Linked DNA regions of Homo sapiens: region 1 is linked to region 2. The links are contacts of gene promoters, found by promoter capture Hi-C in blood cells and fetal thymus (Javierre and others, 2016). All regions are on one chromosome and are shown on one strand. Each heading gives the region's core, a stretch centred on a gene start or on the middle of the fragment in contact. The rest is flanking DNA. Distances are from core to core; before and after follow the strand shown.

What was found. Contacts are between HindIII fragments. The CHiCAGO score rates a contact against its expected background, and 5 or more counts as called.
Region 1: a fragment that was not itself captured here is called in contact with the fragment with the promoter of TGDS in region 2 in 2 of 17 cell types (naive B cells and total B cells); the score reaches 7.3 in naive B cells.

Annotation. Positions count from the first base shown.
Region 1 is chr13:91,390,516-91,397,740 of GRCh38, reverse strand. LOC124903189 (a long non-coding RNA gene) reads right to left here and starts at 864. Exons shown (of 2, transcript XR_007063831.1): 1 at 580-864; 2 at 153-395. The HindIII fragment of the contact is 4,750 bases long and covers 2,937-7,225 here.
Region 2 is chr13:94,593,585-94,599,857 of GRCh38, reverse strand. TGDS (TDP-glucose 4,6-dehydratase) reads left to right here and starts at 3,706. Exons shown (of 12, transcript NM_014305.4): 1 at 3,706-3,807; 2 at 5,951-6,017. The coding sequence starts at 3,722. RefSeq lists an enhancer at 3,533-3,842. The HindIII fragment of the contact is 5,991 bases long and covers 509-6,273 here.

The sequences.
Region 1 (7,225 bases), core at 4,062-6,561, 3.2 Mb after region 2:
TCTCAATCTACAGCCACTTGAAGAGAGTACTCCTTCTGTAAAATAAACTAGTTAAAAGCATCAGGCAGAGGGGACAATGAATGCTTTAACCACTTTAAGGAATTTCATCTCAAATTTGAACCCTTACCAAGAGATAGTAGTGAAAAACTTTATGTCTTAGTGAAGATTTTTAATGAACATTTAATATCAAAGGCAGCACTTTCAGCAGTATATCACTTGCTTTAAAACCATTCCAGGGCAATGGCTGAAACACTGCTTCAGAGTGAAATCATGCTACTTGGTGTTTGGCATCAGTTTTCTGAATATGAGATTTTGTTTCAAAGGGCAGTGCTCTTCATGAATCTCTTCTGCTCTAACCACCAAGTATGGAAAGATTGTCTGGAAGCCACCTATATCTATGAAAAGAAACAAGAAAAACCATGAGAATGTATATAGTGCTTATGGGCCAGATAATATTCTAAGTATTTTATGGAAATGAATTCACTCATGTAATCTTTATAACAACCTTATAAAGTAGTTACTACTATTATCATTGTTTTACAGATGAGGAAACAGGAACACAGAGGTGAAGTGACTTACTGAATGCCTAAGGTAAGTGACAAAGCCAGAAATCAAACTGAGGCTTCCAAATCCAGACCGCATGCTCTTCTCCAGAGGCTCTCCTTGACTATTCTGTGGTACAGAAAAACCCATCAGGTTTCACCAAAGGCCTTTGGGCAGCAACACCAAGGGCTGTTTATTCATTTAGCAGATTTTTTACTAGTAAATATGCATAATTTCTATCTATATAACTGTATTCTACTGGAATTATGTGTATCTCTATATAAGGCTAATAAATTCCCAAGTTTTTCTAAAACATCTTTATTGTTACCAAGATCTCTCCTTGATAGATTTGATCATCTTAGACTCTTAGCATCAAAAAGATCCTTAAATTACCATCTATCCCATTAACTGGAATCTCTAAAACGGTGTGTCTTGCAAGGATAAAAATCATAAACACAACTGAGTATTGATGGTTCAGTAAAAGCTAATTGACTAATACATATTGGTTGAAAACATACAATTTTTTTAACCGCTATTCTAGGCTTAACAGGAGTTTAAAGAGACACACAAGCAAGTTTTCTCAGTGATTTTATAAGTTAACAAAACAGGTGGGAGGTCATTTATAGAAATGCCATAGGAACTAACAAGAATATATTTAGTCTGTATAAAATATCCCCATTAACAAAAAATAAATATATTTTCCTTCTACCTCTTATCCATAACTGCTAGCAAAGTGGATGAGCCAGCATGTGGCCTGGAAGGGCATCTTGTCCTATTAGCATCCCTAAGCCCACCACGCAAGGCAACAGTATGCCTGCTACTGAAGCTACCAAGCTTCAAGACAAGTTTTCTAGTTCCACCCAGAACACAATGCCACGATCCCTTTTATAAGAACATTCTAGAGCAACCTCTGCAAATTATACCATAACTAGCCTTTTATTCAATTTACTGGTAAACATTACAAATGAAGCTAGGGAAAACTGTCCATAATTTGATAGTTATAATGCCTTATTTTACAAAATGTATTTAAAAAATGTATTGAATGTCTTTTATATAATAGGCATTGCGCTTTGCTTTCAAAATACCAATACCCTTGGATAGGAGAATCCTTAAATGGTCATTATTTAAAATACAGCTTAGTAATATTCTAAATCCAAAACTTCCCTGATACTTTCTATGTAACTGTTTATATGTTTATAGTTTGTCAACTTAGGACCTTGTAAAGAGAAATAAAAAACCTCGGCCGGGTGCGGTGGTTCACGCCTGTAATCCCAGCACTTTGGGAGGCTGAGGCGGGTGGATCACGAGGTCAGGAGATCGAGAGCATCTGGCCAACATGGTGAAACTCCATCTCTACTAAAAATATGAAAATTAGGTGGGTGTGGTGGCCCATGCCTGTAATCCCAGCTACTCAAGAGGCTGAGGCAGGAGAATCGCTTGAACCCAGGAGGCAGAGATTGCAGTGAGCCCAGATCGTGCCACAGGACTCCAGCCTGGGGGACAGAGTGAGACTCCATCTCACAAAAAAAAAGAAAGAAAGAAAACCTCCAGTGTGGTTTAGGTGATTTAATGATATCACAGAGTCTTCAACCCTGACTATTCTTTTAGGCTAAGACTGGCCACTAATTAGTTTACCCTCAGAAGCTGATTTGGGTAACTTTTATACCCAGTCAATGACAAGAGCTAAGATTTATTAAGCACTTACAGATATTATCTCATTTAACATTTCAACCATTCCATGAGACAGTTACTATTATACTACTGAGAAAACTGAAGTACAAAGAGATTAAATAACCTTCCAGAAATCCTGATAAGAGCCCAAATGCAAGCCAGGCTTCATAACTTTTGTACCCCTTTAGTCACTACACTCGCCTGCCTGAAAAGCCAGACACCTGGTTTGTGGCCCCTTGAACTCAACCTATCATATAAATATAAACTCTGGTACTCACAGCTATCCATGTGGACAACCTGCTGAACACCTTGGTTATAGTGGTCCAGAGCTCTGCATTGGCTTCAACGATGGCCTGATAGTACCTCACTGACGTGGGGCTGGCCAAGGTACTACCTGCTCCTACTTCCTACCTCCACTAAGCTTTTAACTAGGAGAACTGTTTTGCAAGCACTAAAATCCCACGAACTGCCTTGACATCTTTGAGCCTCACAGGTCCCTAGTCATGAGTTCTCCTGCTCTGGCCAGATATGCCCCCCACCCAGATGGAAAGTCTTGCTTGCTGGCTACCTCCCTTAGCTGGACCAGCTCCATCCCACCCTGTCTTCAACCTAATGGCTTTCACCTCCCTTCAGAGCAATTAGTCCAACAAGATAATCACATCCTCCTGTGGGAACCAAGGGGTCCTCCCCACAACACACCATCTTCTTGTTACTACAAAGCTTGCCTCCCACAACTCCTGCAGGTTCACTCTGCTCCCAAATGAAGCCCCTCCTCCCCTGTATGGCCCTGCATGGCATGTGGTAGCCTCCTCCCCTGGGCTATGAGTATGTGTGACTAACAAACTGCTGTAAATCTCATCTGTCCAGTCTTGTGTGTTTGATCATCTCGTATAATTTACAAAGGGGGATCCCTCTTTCATCAACTGGGTGAAAAGGAGGTTGTCAGAGAAAGAATATCCTTAATACAAATAACTTCCACTTCATTATTTCCAAAAAAGTGCTGACTTTTGTCTTGCCCTACCTTCTCTCTCCCTCCGATGTAGGCTCTAAGCCGTTGGTTGCACAATAAAGAGAACCAAGTTGGATGTCAGCCCGAGCTGCCCCAGTAATGAATTTCTGCCACCAAGTAACCAGGAGAAAATTGAGTGATACTCCCCTGAAATCTCCTCTAGTGAAGATAGTAATGGTTCTGTTAAAAAAAAAAAAAATCACCACCGGGCACAGTAGCTCTCGCCCGTAATCTCAGCACTTTGGGAGGCTAAGGCAGGAGGATCACTTGAGCCCAGGAGTTTGAGACCAGCCTGGGCAACATAGGGAAACTCTGTCTCTACAAAAATTCCAAAAAAATGGCCAGGCATAATGGCACATGCCTGTAAGCCCCAGCAGCTTGGGAGGCTAAAGTAGGAGGATCACTTGAGCCCAGCAGGTTGAGGCTGCAGTGAGCCATGTTCGCACCACTGCATTCCAGCCTGGGTAACAGCGTGAGACCCTGTCTCAAAAGAAACGAAAAAAGAAGAGAGGAGAGGTGAGGCGAGGTAAGGCGAGGCGAGGAGAGGAGAGGAGAAGGCAAGGCTGCCTAAAGGAGAGACTACACAGCAAATAAAATATTACATAAAATACTCAAAACCAGACACCAAACTGAAATTAACATGACAGTCAGTGGGAATCTTTGATCAGCAAACATTTTCAAAAATCACACACACACACACACACACGTGTCAGTATACCACTAATGTGTATATATATACACACACATGTGTGTCTGTATACCACTAATCTATATTTTCAGTTTGAAAATCCTCATAATCATCAGTACATGTTTATCAATGATTTTTAAATATTTTAGATGTACTTATGTCATTATCTCATAGTGAGTGTGCTTCAAGGCAAAGACAATGTTAACTATTTCACAAAAAGCCTTAAATAAATACTGTTACTGTGTGAAAATTTCAAAAGTATTTTGTACTATCTTTAATTTTACATGTTTTATATTTGCAATTTCTAATGAAAGACATTTCATTTCTTTCAGAGAACTTATGGAGAAATAAAAATAATAGTTGCTTTCAAAAAGAGAATCTACAGTATTAGAAAGAAGACTAGGAAAAGAAACCAGCAACACTCAATGATTTTATGAAGCCAAATGTCTTCAAATAATTTTCTTCTAGTCTATAATGTAAGAATGTTAAAACCGTGTCCCTCAAAGTTGCAATATACATTGCATGTGTAAATTGTATGTATAATTACAACATAATGGAAATGAATATACTACACATTTCTCTCACTTTCAAATGTTGGTTTTGCACCAACTATTTTTGGTTTCCAAATAGAGTGAAATTTACATCCAGAATTTCATTGTATCATTAATTATATCAACAGCTTAAGGAAAAATAATTATATTAACCAATAAATCCAGTTGTTAACTACATGAAATACATAATCTTGCTTAGGTGAATGTTTTCCAGAAATTAAACTAGGGAAAAAGTCTCTAACCTTTATAAGATTGTATACCTAATGTTGCTGGCTGTTTAACCTGAGAACTAAGGGGCCACAAGAGTTTATCTGCCAGATGATAAGCCTTCTGAGGTCAAGTGAGCCTGCGCATATCCACTTCTACCCTCTGTAGTCATTGCATAACTTTATTGAATGAATTTGGCTGCTATAAGGTTGATAATCTCATGTGTCCTATGTTATCTTTATTAAAATCTTTGATTCTTTTTTAAGCAGCAGTCCACTTTTTAACTTCACTTAATCCCTAAATTATTATATTACTTTCAAAGTGGAAAATTCACTATCTGATAGAATAGTATCAATAAACATCTTCAAAACCAGGTTGTAATTTCTCAAGCTATTTGTGATCACTTCATCTTCTAGATTTGACTTTCAGTAAATCTTTAATGTCTGTTTCACTTCTTGTCATTACTTTTTATGATTAAAAATTTGAGGTAGATGTTTTAAAATGTTAATGTTACCACTAAATGAATTATTCAATCAAGAGATAAAGAATTATTTTCCTAATTAATTTCCTGCAACTTTGACATTATACTATCTTAAATATTTTCAGATAAAATTACTTTTAATGCTAGTTATCAAATATTCTCCAGAATGGGTATTCATTATCTGTGTCACTTTGGTGGTTGTTAAAACCACTCTGATATTTCCTTTACTTACTATGTAAAATGAGGGGAAAACACAACATCTATGTTATAATGTTGATAGGGTTAACTGAGATAATATATGTGAAGTATTTTGTACAATTCTTGGATTATGTGACCACTCAATAACTAGACATTATTCTTCTTCCCCACTTGAAAAAAATACCTGCCATTAATTTGTGCTCTATTAGTTACATCCTAGAGGTATTTAAGGTAATAAGCCCTCTCCTCTAAACTCAATAACAATTCAAAAGTAAAACCTCTTGCCCTCCCCATATTTGTAATATGGTTCTTTCATGTCGTATAGCAGTTATGCACCTATCAAACTATTTTTTTGAGTAATGGAACAAATGAGCATCATCTCAACTCAACGTAGGTACAGGAGATTTTAAGTTGCTCAAGGTCATGAGCTAAAAGTCATTTTTAAAGGTAAAAGAGTCACTCTTCTCTGAACATAATGAGCACTTAGAGCAGGATCTGGAAACTAATTATCATCAGCTTTTTAAGATGCAAAATGTAGACTCTCTCCTAATAATTAAGCCTTATAATTGATAATTATCTTTGATTAATGAGTAGGAAGTTTTTCCAGAGGCTTTCGCTGCTGTGTACCATTGTCATAATTGATCTTTAATTGTTCCATGTAAGAATCCCTTTTATCATGTTTAATCTCTGCTATTTATAAATAAGGACCATGTACCACCCTTATTAACTCTCCCTAGATGTAATATTACTTTACAATTGTCTTTCCAATTTAATTAATATTCGGCTTAATTCTTTACATTTGCATATGAAAAGGTACAAGCAGTTCATGCTATCAAGCAGAAAGGAGAAACCCTTTGCTCTGACCACTTTTGAATTCTCTTCTTGATCCAAATTTTGAGAGAAGAGAGAACAATACTCTCTCTGGATATGCCAGAGGAGACTGTACATCATTGCCATCTTTCTGCTTCTGGATAATGTATTTAGGCCCTTCTTATCTTAGGAAAATATGTATCATTTCATCTGGGCTCTGTTTCCTATATAGCATCCTAGTTTTTCCTCACTTTCCTTTTCCTGCCAATATTTCCAAATGATCTAGCTACTTTCCTGATCTCTGTATATCAGATTAGTCCGAAACCACACGGCCAACTTTTTTCATATATCTGCTGAGTCTGACATTGCTAAACACTCTCGTAAAATTTCTGTCCCCTTCAGCTTTCCTGAAAATTCACCGTCCTCAGTCTTCTCCTAGCTCTCCAACATTTCTTTGTCTATTCTTTTGCCTATTTTCTACCTTTCCCCTGCCTCCAAATTTCCCAAGACTTATGCCCTAGGCCTTGCTTTTCTAGTTATTCTTCCTAGGAAGGTGTCCTGGGTTAAATAGTTTCCCCTCAAAATTCATGTCCACCCATGCATTTTGAATATCAGAATGTTACTTTATTTGGAGCTGGGATCTTTGCAGGTGTTATTAATTAAGGATCTTAAGATGAAATCATCCAAGATTTAAATCCAATGACTGGTGTCCTTATAAGAGGAGACGCAGACAGAGAAGGAGGAGATATGAGATGGAGGCAAAGATTAGAGTGATTCAGCTGCAACCCAAAAAAATGCCAAGGATTGCTGTCAACCACCTGACGTTAAGAGAGGAATGAGCCTGATGTGGTATTTGGTTTTCTTTCCTTTGTTAGTTTGCTGAGGATAACTAGGTGATGGGTTGATAGGTGCAGTAAACCACCATGGCACACGTTTGCCTGTGTAACAAATCTGCACATCATGCACATGTAATCCCAGAACTTAAAATAAAATTTTTAAAAAAGAGGAATGAGATGGCTCTTCCCTCGGAGCCTCCAGGAGGAACCAACCCTGCTGACATTTTGATT
Region 2 (6,273 bases), core at 2,457-4,956:
TTTTTTGAGACAGAGTATCACTCTGTCACTCAGGCTGGAGTGCAGTGGCACAATCTCGGCTCACTGCAACCTCCGCCTCCCAGGTTCAAGTGATTCTCCTGCCTCAGCTTCCAGCTGGAATTACAGGTGCACACCACCACACCTGGCTAATTTTGGATTTTTAGCAGAGACGGGGTTTCACTATGTCGACCAGGCTGGTCTCGAACTCCTGACCTCAAGAGATCCACCCACCTTGGCCTCCCAAAGTGCTGGGATTACAGGTGTGAGCCATCACGCCCGGCCATGTACTTTCATTTTCAATAAATCCCTGCTTTCGTTCTTTCGTTGCTTCATTCTTTTGTTGCTTCATTCTTGCCTTGCTTTGCTGTGCATTTTGTCCAATTCTTTGTTCAAAATGCCAAGAAACTGGACAACTTGCAGTCAAGACCCTCCACTGGTAACAAAAGTAGGAGCTCAAAATTATTTCATGAATAAATGTATATAAATTATTTTCATTTAACAACAAGCTTCTATAACATATAAGGAAGTTCTCATAACAGACCTCATCATTTAGAAAAAAAAAATATTGAGGAACCACCTCCTACCATATACACAGCATTTTCAGTATTTCTGGCTGACCAGGAATATGCTGGAAGTATTAATATTTTCGGATTTTTTAAAAAAAAACTGCGGCCGGGCGCGGTGGCTCACGCCTGTAATCCCAGCACTTTGGGAGGCCAAGGCGGGTGGATCATGAGGTCAGGAGATCGAGACCATCCTGGCTAACAAGGTGAAACCCCGTCTCTACTAAAAATACAAAAAATTAGCCGGGCGCGGTGGCGGGCGCCTGTAGTCCCAGCTACTGGGGAGGCTGAGGCAGGAGAATGGCGTGAACCCGGGAAGCGGAGCTTGCAGTGAGCCGAGATTGCGCCACTGCAGTCCGCAGTCCGGCCTGGGCGACAGAGCGAGACTCCGTCTCAAAAAAAAAAAAAAAAAAAAAAAAAAAAACTGCAAGGATTCTTTATTATGCAAGTAATCCATGTGTCTCAGAAAAAAATTCACAGTCAAAAGTATATAAAGTGGGCTGGGCGCAGTGGCTCACGTCTGTAATCCCAGCACTTTGGGAAGTGAGGTGGGTGGATCACCTGAGGTCAGGAGTTCAAGACCAGCCTGGCCAACATGGTGAAAACTCATCTCTACTAAAAATACAAAAACTAGCCAGGTGTGGTAGCATGCGCCTGTAATCCCAGCTACTTGGAGGCTGAGATGGGAGAATCGCTTGAACCTGGGAAGCAGAGGTTGCAGTGAGTCAAGATTGTGGCACTGCACTCCAGGCTGGGCAACAGAGCGAGACTGTCTCAAAAAAACAAAAGTATATAAAGTAAAAATTAAACTCCCCATTTCCTCCTTTCCCTGCCCATATCTCATCCCTAAAGGTAACTTATTTTAAGAGTTTAGGGTCAATCCTTTCAAGTAAGCCACAAATACCACAAATATATGTGGTATTACAAATACCACAAATATATGTGGTATTTGTAAACCAAGGACAGGAATAAAACTGGTCCTGAAGAGAAATCATAACACAGGCCTTGAATGTTAGGCCTTTCCTATCTTTTCTTTCTTCTCAATCAACTTTGTTTTTCTCACTGTGAAGACAGGCTTTCTGGCTCCTCACTTTGAAAGAACATGGCCACCAAAAAGTTCCAGCTTTGTAGGACCTCAGAGTTCAAGTAGAGTAACCAGACTATACTAGCACCTTAGTCGAATTCTAAATCCCAAGAAGAGGCTTCAGTTGGCCTAGAGTCAGCCAGATTTCATTCTGTGGCCTGCCTGGGTCAACTTGGGGAGATCATAAAGGACAGTGGGGGGAGGAGTCTGGTCAGAAAAAAACTGTACGTATCGACTGCAATATATTTTGGTCTTCATTCCATGTTGGTATATTCTTTTTAAAGGCTATATAGCAGTTTACTGCATTTTAAAAGTTAGAAGACATTATACACATTTAGATTATTTCCAGTGTTTCATTATTGCAAGCAATACAGCAATGAACAATTATCTATATTATACATCATGGAATTTGAGGGGGTCATAGAATATGAACATTTGAAATTTTCATATGTTTTACCACTTTGCCTTGTAAAAAGGTTGTGGTATGATTCTTCCACATATACACCTGTACTGGATGTTTCCATTCGTTTTCAGCTTTGCCAAACATTATGGTGGGGAAAAAAAGATATTTATCTATTCGACAATATTTAATGGTCATTTATTCTGTGCCAAGTCTCTAAGGACATGCGATTACAGCAGAAAACAAAACAAAGCCCCTGACCTCATGGAACACTAAACAGAGGGCAGTGACATCAATGTAAATGTTGAGTGCTAGGAAGAAAAATAAAGAAGGATAAGATGATTCGGCAGGGTTGGGCAGAGCTCGCTATTTTAATTGTGGTGGTCAATAGGATGCCATTCAAGCTGAAAACGGAAGTAAGGGTAAAAACTAGGCAGACATCTGGGGAAAGACAATCAAGGTCCCGGGGAAGTAGCATGCCTGGCACATTGAATGAAGAGCAAGGAGGGTGGGGAGGCTGGGGCGGAGTGAGCAAAGGAGAGAATAGAATAAGACATCAGCGTAGGACCTAGGGAATATCTTTATCATGATTGCAAGCCTTCTGCGCTGTCTGTAATAATAATATTATTATTTTTTGAGACGGAGTTTTGCTGTTGTTGCCCAGGCTGGAGTGCGATGGTGCGGTCTCGGCTCACTGCAACCTCTGCCTTCCGGGTTCAAGCAATTCTCCTGCCTCGGCCTCCCAAGTAGCTGGGATTACAGGCGCCCGCCACCACGCCCGGCTAATTTTTGTATTTTTAGTAGAGACAGGGTTTCACCATGTTGGCCAAGCTGGTCTCGAATCCTGACCTCAGGTGATCCGCCCACCTCGGCCTCCCAAAGTCCTGGGATTACAGGCGTAAGCCACGGCGCCCGGCCTGAAATAATATTAACAACAGCAAAAGATCATTTTGCAGGCCAGGCACGGTGCTCACGCCTGTAATCCCAGGACCTTGGGAGGCTGAGGCGGGAGGTTGGCTAGATCCCAGGAGTTCGAGACCAGCCTGGACAACAGGGCGAAACCCATCTCTACCAAAAATTAGGCGGGCGTGGTGGCGCACGACTGTATTCCTAGCTACTCAGGAGGCTGAGGTGGGAGGATTGCTTGAGCCCCATTGGTCGACGCTGCAGTGAGCCGTGATCGCACCACTGCACTCCAGCCTGGGTAACAGAGGGAGACCCTGTCCCCGCCCCACTAAAAAAAAAAATCATTTTTAAATTGCAACCTCCCATCTCCATCTGCAACAACTCCCCGTTCTCAGCTCAACTGATAGGTAACCTCTAGAGATGGCTGTAGTACAAGAATGAAAAAAGGTACTCATTCATAAATCTGATCCATAGTGGTGGCATTTCCGGGAAAAACGTTCCATACCCCTACCATCCGGGCGACCCCAATTGCACCTGGCGGACCAGGCAAGGGCGGAAAGGAGCAGCGCCTGCGCGTGGTGAGCGCGGCCCCGCCCAGCCCGCTAGTGGGCGGGCAGAAACTGGCCACAGAGCAGTCTCCGGAAGCTGCCTCTGGCTGCTCTGTTAACGTGTCCCGCGAGCGAGGCGCGTCGCAAAAGGTCGCGGCGGAACTTCCCTGCGCTTTTCAGACCATACTCTTTACGGTACTAGGCACTGCTGAGCTGGGAGATGTCGGCGGCGTGTTGGGAGGAACCGTGGGGTCTTCCCGGCGGCTTTGCGAAGCGGGTCCTGGTGACCGGCGGTGCTGGTTTCATGTAGGTAATGGCGCCGCTAGCCAAGCAGTGGCTCCCCAGAAACCCCTACCTTTTCCCGCAGCTCTGCTTGCCCTAGGTAATTTGGGTCCAGCTTTGAGGGGTCCTTATTCTGATATGGGGAGGGTCCTAATGCACGACCTGGACCAGCTTTTCTCTCTCTGGCCTGCAAAGAAGTGGTTCCTTTGAAACTGACTTCTTTAAAACGCCTCTTCCAAAGCTGCGTTACTCTCCGCCCTTCTGTGGCCGGAGGTGCTCACCATGTCACTCCTTGAGTGCGTGCAAGTTACCCTAAGCTGCTCACCGACTGCTTCCCACCTCCAGCCTAGAGCACCCACACCCCACGATGGGCCCTGTACATATAGGCACCCCCAAAACGATTTAAGGACTATAATAGGACATCTATGTAATCAGCAAACTTTTACAAATCCACTGTTGACACCCTTTTCTTCCTCAGACCCACATTCGAGCAGCAAGTCCTCTCTACTTCCAAAGTATATCCTTACGGCGACCACTTCTCACCAGTTTCCCGTTTCCACCCTAGCCCATGTTTACTGTCATCTTTTGCCTCGACTGCTGCTGTAGCCTCTTGGTTGGCCATAACTGCGTCCACTCATGTTCCTTTAAAGCCTGTTGCTCACATACAAGTCAGTGTTTCTTAAGTCAATCAGATCATGGTAGAAGCAGGATTTTACTTCAGTGGTTCCTGCCACACTTAAGAATAAAGCCCAAACTCTACCATATCTAGAAAACTCAAGTGCCCAAGCCCTACTTTTGCAACCTGATCTGCTTTTCTGTACCTGCCATGCTTCCCCTCTTAGTTCTTGGAACACACCAAGATACACACTTCTGTCTTGAGGCCTTTGCACTTGCTTCCCCTTTCCTTAGGCTGTTTGCACCACTCAATTCTGGTTTTTATTCAGATAGCACCTCAGAGAGTTCTTACCTGACCACCATATCTAAAATAGCCCCTCTCCCAACTAGCACACTTAACCTCTACCTGAAATTATATTGCGGATTTGTGTCTGCTTGTTTATTGCTTGTATCCCCACTCTAAAATGCAAACTCGGTAAGGACAGAGACTACTGTTCATTCAGCACCTGGAAGAATGCCTGGCCCATTCTATATAAGTCTTTAGTAATTGTGGAATGGATGAATGCAAGAGTAATAAACAGGAAACTCTCCTATCCTCCCCTCAAGGAACTCAGTGGCTAGTGGAAGAAGTGGGAATGTGAGGATTCCTGTTTATGGCCATTTGCACATTAAATCACCCCTTCTAATCCGACAAGTCATTTGGGGGAGAGCATCAGGCTGGCAAGTTTCACTTAATGAGAAAGAGGACTATGGACATGAAAGGGTGATACTTGTGTGAGAGTGCGGGTCCAGGAAGGGTGCGACTTAGAAAGTGCTGTGAAAGGAATGCCGAATACAAACTTCAAGTTCATAATTTGGTCAAGGGCTCCCCTCTCCTGGGAGCCCAACATTTTAAGTATACATGGTAAATCTGGTAGATCATTTCACTGAGATATGCCTGTGATTCCCCTTTAGGGTCCTCTGAAGCCCAGGACCCACTGTGGATATCCAACTCAGAATGGTTTCAGCTGTTATTAGCCTGGGAATCCTGGGTTTAGTCTAGAAGCCTCCTGAGGATTCTGGTTTAACATTACCAAAATCTTATACCAAGAAATAGCAATTGCAGAAGTTACTATTAAATATAGACAACTGACTATACTCATAGTAATTTCATTTTTACATACTTATATCTGCAGTTCCTGAAAAGGCATGCTATAGGCATGTACAGTTGTGCTGACTAGCTCCCATTTATTGTTCCACTTTACTCGATACTTGTACCTGTATGGATGGCATCGTTTGGTTAAACTGACTTTTTTCCCTATACCCAGAACCAGTACATTCTCTCTTCTGCATAGTCTAAATGGAATGTAAAACTTTTGTTTATAGATACTGTTGAGAAGTTTGGTAAAAAGTTTGCATGTGTGTATATTTAGTGTAGTTATGTTTTCTGTTATCTTAGAAAAAATTAAAGTTATCTTTGAGTATTTTCCTAGTACTCAACACCTTAGGAAAATATTCAAGAGTTTAGGGAAGTTAAAGTTTTTCACTAACAAGATATACTTTTTTTCCATAGTGCATCACATATGATTGTCTCTTTAGTGGAAGATTATCCAAACTATATGATCATAAATCTAGACAAGGTGAGTTTTATAAAAATGAGCATCATGCACTGAAATTACATTTCAATTTATGTTTTCTAAAAGTACTAGAATCTTGTCATGCTGATATTTAAATTTTTTATTTAGTCATTTTAGCAATTCAGAGGCTCTGTATAGTAATGTGCTCATGCTGTATTTAATCTTATATAAAAGTTTTTGAAACCTGCATTTCTTATGTTGGTCCACAAAATAAAGTTTTTGTTTTATTTTGTTTTTTTCAGTTGCTACTTTGCAAATG